Regions from separate parts of the Homo sapiens genome. Here region 2 is linked to region 1. The links are contacts of gene promoters, found by promoter capture Hi-C in blood cells and fetal thymus (Javierre and others, 2016). All regions are on one chromosome and are shown on one strand. Each heading gives the region's core, a stretch centred on a gene start or on the middle of the fragment in contact. The rest is flanking DNA. Distances are from core to core; before and after follow the strand shown.

Region 1 (3,741 bases), core at 988-3,487:
GACACATAAAGACCCGGGTTGAAGTCCTCGCAGCTGCCCTGGGTCCTGAGCTACCGCAGGGCCAGTGTGCAGCGTCCAGGGAGCCATTTTAGGAGAGAGATCCAGGGGCGTCGACCACGAGCCCGAAAGGGAGAGGCTTGGGCCTGGGATGGAGATGGGGAGGCAGATAAGTGTGCTGGGGGTCTGGGTTGAGGAGAAGAATGTCAGCTGGAATCTGGGCGGGGGTGCCAGCTGCGGGGAGGGAGCACACAAGATGGGCAGTTCTAGTTGGGGGAGGCTCGATGCCCTCCAGTCGCCACAGACCTATTTGCGCAGTGTTGGGGGAGGGAAGAAGACATGGGAAGGGGCGGAGGAAGGAGAGAGGAAGGGAGAAAGGGAGGGAGGAGAAAAAGAGGAAGGGGGGGTACATCAGCCAGAAAATAGATATTAGCTCAGACCACCCGCCTTTTCTCTGTCTGTCCGCACGGTGGGCAGAGCGCACAGCACCGGCACTGCAGCAGCCCGGGCCAGGGAGGGAACCAGCATCACAGCCAGCGCCGCCTGCCCTGGGTATAGGACTGAGGCCCAGGCCCCAGCGCTGGGATTGCCTGGGCGGAGGAATCTTGGGGAAAGGGGCAGCCTCCTGCCCTCGGTTCTGGGATTTGGGTTTGGGAAGAGACGGTTTACCTTTGAAAAGCGTCTGCTCACTCGGAGGTGGGATCCCAGGCCTTGCCTGGACCCATGGGCTAGGAGAGGGTCGCGGCAGGCTGGGAGGAGAGTGAGGCCTTGGGGGAGTGGATGGGGTGCCCCACGAAGAGTCTGCCTCAGAGCCAGGTGACACAGAGGGGCTCCAGGAGGGAGTCAGGCTCCGCTGAGAGCCCTTAGAGAGACAACCTATCTTGGGGGAGGGGCTGAAGTGACCATGCAGACCCAAGGGTACCAGAAGAGCCTCGGGGAAACGCGGCGTGGATTCGCAGGCCTTGGCGGGGCTCCGAAGCAGTGAAGGGTCTAGGTATAAGGCGGACACCCAGGCTAGGCCTGAAAGCAGAGGGGTGAGGAGGACGAAGGTGCGAGTGTGTGGGGGTTGTCTCTTGTGGGGAGCCAGCGGGAAGCCAAGCACCCTAAGAGTAGGACTCCAGATCCTTTTGTTCACCAGACTCCCCAGATTCTAGGGAGGCTGGGGACCACGGGCTGAGCCCCCTCCTGGCTTCAGTGCTGAAGGAGAAGGCAGAGAGGCAACGGGGAGAGAGACAGAGACAGTGACACACAGCTTAGAGGAAAGGAGGGGAGAGGATGAGAGGACAGAGAGAGAGAGGAGAAGGGAGACAGGAAAGCAAGAGGAAGGAAGAAGGAAAGCGGAAAAGAAGAGGAAGGAGAGAAGTGAAGACAGGAGAGAGAAGGGAGAAGACTGAAGAGAAACGAGGCAAGGAGAAAGAGAGACAAGAACAGAGAGGGAAACCAGAGAGAAGGGAAGAGAGCCGGGTGGGCACGAAGGCCCCGGCCTGGGTGAGTGCCTAGGTGGTGAATGGCCTGGGTTTTTCCGAGGCCAGCACTCGCACCCTTGGGGTCAGAACCGGAAAGAGCCAAGTCACTCCACTCTGAACGCGCTGGGCAGAAAAATATGTAAATCAGGGCTCCCTGCGCCCTGGAGAGTGGCGAAATTACTCCCGCCCGGTGAACAAGAAGCAACAAGCTCCCAGGCGGGTGAGCTGCAGAGGGTGGCAGAGTCGCGGGGGAGGGAGCGGCTGCAGTAAGGGGGGTGGGGTTCGGAACCTCACACCCTCACACCTAGTTCCTAGCTTCTAGGGAGCCTGGAGCCGGGGCTTCCCCCCCTCTGCTCGCTGCTTCTCTCCCTTCCCCCTTCCTCCCCCTCTTCCCCCTCCTTCCTCCTCCCCGCCGGCCTCGGTCCGCGTACTTAAAGCGGCGCGGGAGGGCGGACGCGGGCGGGCGGCCCGTTCGGGCGGTGGCAGATGCGCCCAGCGGTGACAGCGGCCAGCGGCGCGCAGGTGACCGGCCTGAGGCGCAGCCTGGTCAGGGAGCGCCCGGGGAGAGCTGGCGGCAGAGGGCAGCCGATCCGCCCCCAGCGCGCGCGTCTCGGCGCCAGGAGCCGTCCCGGGGCGTGTTGGCGAGCGTTGATATAGATATAAGGACATTTCTCTTCATGGCGTCACGTGACATAATTACCACCAGAATCAATCAAGATGAATTGCACGTCAGCGCCCGGTGGGGATTTTTGCTTAGTTGATCCTGGCCCAAGCCTCTTGTGCAATCGATGGCTCAGGTTGGCTGCGCGGGGAGCGGCCAGAGGCTCGCTGGCGCGCACGCCGCGGAGTCATGAACGACTTTGACGAGTGCGGCCAGAGCGCAGCCAGCATGTACCTGCCGGGCTGCGCCTACTATGTGGCCCCGTCTGACTTCGCTAGCAAGCCTTCGTTCCTTTCCCAACCGTCGTCCTGCCAGATGACTTTCCCCTACTCTTCCAACCTGGCTCCGCACGTCCAGCCCGTGCGCGAAGTGGCCTTCCGCGACTACGGCCTGGAGCGCGCCAAGTGGCCGTACCGCGGCGGCGGCGGCGGCGGCAGCGCGGGGGGCGGCAGCAGCGGGGGCGGCCCCGGCGGGGGCGGCGGCGGCGCGGGGGGCTACGCTCCCTACTACGCGGCGGCGGCGGCGGCGGCTGCGGCGGCCGCGGCGGCCGAGGAGGCGGCCATGCAACGCGAGCTTCTCCCGCCCGCGGGCCGCCGGCCGGACGTGCTCTTCAAGGCGCCTGAGCCGGTGTGCGCTGCGCCGGGGCCGCCGCACGGCCCCGCGGGCGCCGCCTCCAACTTCTACAGCGCGGTGGGCCGCAATGGCATCTTGCCACAGGGCTTCGACCAGTTCTACGAGGCAGCGCCCGGGCCCCCGTTCGCCGGGCCGCAGCCCCCGCCGCCACCCGCGCCGCCACAGCCCGAGGGCGCAGCCGACAAGGGCGACCCCAGGACCGGGGCTGGTGGCGGCGGGGGCAGTCCCTGCACCAAGGCGACCCCTGGCTCGGAGCCCAAGGGGGCAGCAGAAGGCAGCGGTGGCGACGGCGAGGGCCCCCCGGGAGAGGCGGGGGCCGAGAAGAGCAGCAGCGCAGGTAGGCACCGGGTACTGGGCAAGCGGTGGGCCCGGGGGCCGCGGGGGAGGGGGGGGGGGCGGAGGCCTCCCTCTGCTTGCGCCTTTTTATGTGCTACTTTATAAGCATTCGAAGAGGTTTATACATCCTATAAGATTTCCTGGGCCGTTGTAAAGTGTGTTTATGGTAGGAAACCAATTTAGGTGGGCTTAAGGTAGACTTCGAGGAGGACATTAATAGCTGTCGAGAGCCTTTTCCCAGTTTTGGGCAGGGGGTTGCTAGATACCATGGAGGGAGGGAGGGAGGGAGATTTCAAGCCAGTGTGAGTGCATACACCGGAGCCTCCTGCTTTTAAGGGAGAGAGGCGGGGGGTGGGGAAGTGGGGGGAGTTTGATCCTTGCACTGGACTTTATCCAAGCCGCTAGCTGACGCGCGCCGCTGGAGTCAAGCAGATGCCCCGGCGGGCCTGCTCTTGTCTCTGTTCCCTCAGGTTCCAGTTTAGAGCCTGCCTTGCCCTCTGCTTCCCCACCTCCGTGCCAGGCTCTGTGTGTGTGTGTGTGTGTGTGTGTGTGTGTGTGTGTGTCCGGGCGTGAACACATGTCCACGCCCGCACTCTCTCCTGTGCCCGCCCATATATCATCCCCCACGACGCAGGCAGGGCCTTTCGG
Region 2 (3,741 bases), core at 928-3,427, 560 kb after region 1:
ATTGAACATTTTGGCCCACTTCCCGCATATGCTAAGGCAGTGGTCTATGATGGAAGATGTTCAGTATGCACTGAGGAGATTGATCTAAATTTATCTTGAAAATCATGTTAGTCCTTAACAATCTTCTCTTGGTATTTGATCAACAACTTGAATTAGAAAGTATCAGAGATGTTTGGGACATTAGATATACTCTAATCTAATCCCTGTTTTACAGATCACAAAACTGAGTAAGGGCCAGAGAGCAAAATCAATTGCCTAAGACACATTGCTGGTTAGTCGACAAGAACCCTCTTTTTAGGATGCCATCTGATATTAATACCAATGTGTATGCCCTACATTAGGGTCTAACTTCACAGGTAGACTCTTCTCTCCTTAGGTTTGTTCATTTGAATGAATGAATGGTTCCTTATAAATGTCTGAGGTGCCAGACCAGTGTTCTTTCTTTGTATATTCATAGATTAGCAGCAGCTTATAATGCTGCAGATATATTCTGCTACTAGCCAGTGGCCCTGGAACCTAATTTACAATATCCGGGTATTCTGTATTCCCTTGAACATGTGATTTTTTTTCCCTTTGAATTCTATGTTTTTTGGATTGCTCATGGTGGAAGGTTTGGGACATAAATCATCATCATTTGCTACTGATCCAATTTGGGAAAACTAGGTCAGTGAATTGTACATCTGTATTAGTTGCTGTGGAAGGACCATTTTAAGCATTCTCAGACATGTAGCTAAGCAAGTCTGGGGCTCTCTGACATTACATAATTTCTCTGCTAAACCAAAGATCTCATTGAGTTTGCTGTTCAGCCATGTCTTATGTTGGATTAGGGGTATATTTGTTCAAAGCTCAGTTTCATCATTTGTCCAGCTTCACAGTATTTCCCCAGATAGGGAGGCTGCCTTCCAGGCTTGGCTGGTTTTTCCTATATTGCTGGGAAAGTTTTCAGTGAATGAATACAATGTAGAGTTTTCATTTGTCACCATGTTATCTCATTTCTAATTTTTGTTCAAGTTATTTTAAGGAAAAGCACCACCCAGTTTCTCTGACCAACTTTTAAAAAAAGATGAAAAGATTTTCTCAGCATGAATAATAGCAACAAGCACATGATGGTCTAAGCTTTTGAACTCTCAGACAGCTGGAGTGCCCAGAATCAGAGTGATTTTCTTCAACCACTTTAGTGCACTGTGAATGTGTGATCGGAGTAGAGTGTGTGATCTTAAACAGTCCTGGTGTCGTGTGGGGAGTTTCCATTCCTTCACTAAATAGACTTCCTGGTTTGAAATTAGCGTCTCATCATGACAAACAGGACCATGTACAGGGAGGTCAGCAGGGGCCTTTCCTGTCATTTGAAACGTGCCCTTGGTTTTGCTTCCCCTAACCCCAGTGCCTTGGAATGCTGTTTGAATCTGGGGATCAAGTGATTCTAAAGTCTCTCCAGGAAAGGAGAATTCAATGAAGCATTCAGCAGCAAAAACTTGGTTAAAAGTGCAGCCTGTGTCAGCATAGGAATGAATTAGAAACAGACTGTGAAAACCTCACCTGTGATCAGTATCACACCCAGAAAGTTGGAGACATCAGGAGGACATGTTCTATGTTTTCACTACCTTGTTGCAGGCAGTCATGAGAGTGATAGGAGGTCACTGTGACTTGTAGTTGTAGGTCCCATTTACTTTCAGGAGAGCAGGCTGAGAGGCTAAGTTCTGTGGTCCGTTGATTATCTTACCTTGGCTTTTCATAACCTGGCAGTTTCCAAAAATAGTTTGAGGACTAACAGAATTGCTAACTACCTCCCACCTCACTCCTGTAAAGACAGTGAACACAACCAGTCTCTTTTTTCCTTTGTTTCATACAAGAAGGGAAATTTTTATACTATAATATGAGAAGACTATAATCTAAAAATAAAATCTTTCTTAAGAAAATTTCCTCATTTTGCTCTGGACCTGTGAAAATGTTTGCACAGACCTGCCTTTGGGAAATCACTTCTCTAGGATGAGCAACATTACGAAATTCCCTCTGTATGGCCATAGCATAGCTTTGTTCCTAGCTCCGGCTAACTTTCTTTGTGGCTGATGCTTTTTAAAGAATTCTGGTTGAATGTCACTTAGTACTGGCTGGAACTTTGTTCAGTAGTTTTGGTAGATGCTGCTGGTATTATCATAATTCATTCATTCACTTGCTTATTTAACAAACTGCCAGACCCAGGCTATGTACTGAAGAGATAAAACAAAATAAACTCACTATTCTCAAGGAGCTTGAAACTCCTTTTCAAGAATCTTATTTAAAAATTTTTAAAAGTCTCTCTTTGTGCCATGAGGGCTTGTGTAGAACACAAGCAGAAGTTGTGAAATGAGTATTTATCTATAGATCCTAAATAAAGGTTTATTGGAGATTTCTCTCTCTACCTCTTTTTTTCTCTGTACTATTCAAAGAAACCTTGTTTCTGATAAGGTAAGGTAGAAGTTAACTAGATAAAGTTCTGACAATGAAATTTAAATTACAGGTTCTAGTGTGATTTTGGCACATCAAAACCCAAAGAACATTTAGAATGTGCCCAGCCCATGGAATCTATTCCTTTGATCTACTCAGCTCACCAAGATGATTGTTCAGCCCTCCCCCACTTTCTCTCAAAATATCTCAACCACTAACAACAGCAACAATAAATAAAAAGGAAAGGAGGAAAGAAGAAAAATCTCCTTAGGGGCATAAATTATTTTCATTTGCTTTCTGCAATGACAAAATTAAGAAAACACCAAATAGCTACATTACTTTGCATTGGGTAAACCTCCAGCCTTCAATTGCTAGGTAACATTTCTTGCAGCTGCTGAGGCTAAGAAACTAGTTTTGCTTTGAATAGATTTGGTGTATATTCAAAATCCTACTCGGTGAAATCCAGTTGTTTGTGAGCTTAAAATTGAAAGGCTTTGTATGCTTTTCTTTGAAATCAGGACCCATTTCAAAGGCATATTACTCACTGGATAAATTGCTGGTTCACAGTTCCAAACCAAAATCAAAGGGGTCTGCAGGCAACTTTGACACTGTCAAGTACCTGGAACTGTGCTGCTATGTGATGAACATTAAGTAAATGTTTGCTTAATGAATGAATGCATGGACTCAATTAATGATCATATCAGCTTGCATTTGTATATTGCTTTATAATTTGTAAAGTGATTTCACATCTATATTCACTATAACAGTTTGAATAAAGAAGAAATTAACTTCACATGTTGGATTCTGCTTTAAAGCTTTAAAGCCACTGATAAGTCGTTGGCTTAACGTGAATATTAATTATTTAACTAATAAAGTAAAAATAAGCTAGGGATCAAAACAGTGGTTTAAAAGATTATGCTACTATTATTTTTATACAATCTGGGGCAGAGTTGATCCTTAAACCAGAATTCCACCTCCAATGAATGTTTACTGTTGTGTGATTGTGGGTGTGTGTGTGTGTGTGTGTGTGTGTGTGTGTGTGTGTGTAAACACAGGCATGTATACTGTAGCTTTTCTGTTTTCTCCAGAAATGTAACCAAAAAATCTAGAGAGAAACAATCAAATATTTATACCAGAGCTTTGGTGCAAGTAGCTAAGATACCAGCCACTGACCCAGCTGGACAGTAGCCTTTTATTTTTTCCTTATTTGGAGCCATGGCCTTGACCTGGCTGAATGTCAGTAAAAGTAGTGTTAGGCAATGCTCCCAAATAATTCATCTAAGGACCCCAAAGCTGGCCCTTCCATACAACTCT

The links. Contacts are between HindIII fragments. The CHiCAGO score rates a contact against its expected background, and 5 or more counts as called.
Region 2: a fragment that was not itself captured here is called in contact with the fragment with the promoter of HOXD11 in region 1 in 1 of 17 cell types (fetal thymus); the score reaches 5.5 in fetal thymus.

The regions. Positions count from the first base shown.
Region 1 is chr2:176,105,043-176,108,783 of GRCh38, forward strand. It overlaps HOXD11 (homeobox D11), which reads left to right and starts at 2,238. Exons shown (of 2, transcript NM_021192.3): 1 at 2,238-3,094. The coding sequence starts at 2,314. RefSeq lists an enhancer at 1-94. The HindIII fragment of the contact is 7,005 bases long and covers 1-3,741 here.
Region 2 is chr2:176,668,337-176,672,077 of GRCh38, forward strand. No RefSeq gene overlaps it. Among named protein-coding and RNA genes, the nearest start is that of LINC01117, 32 kb to the left of the region's middle. The HindIII fragment of the contact is 2,126 bases long and covers 1,115-3,240 here.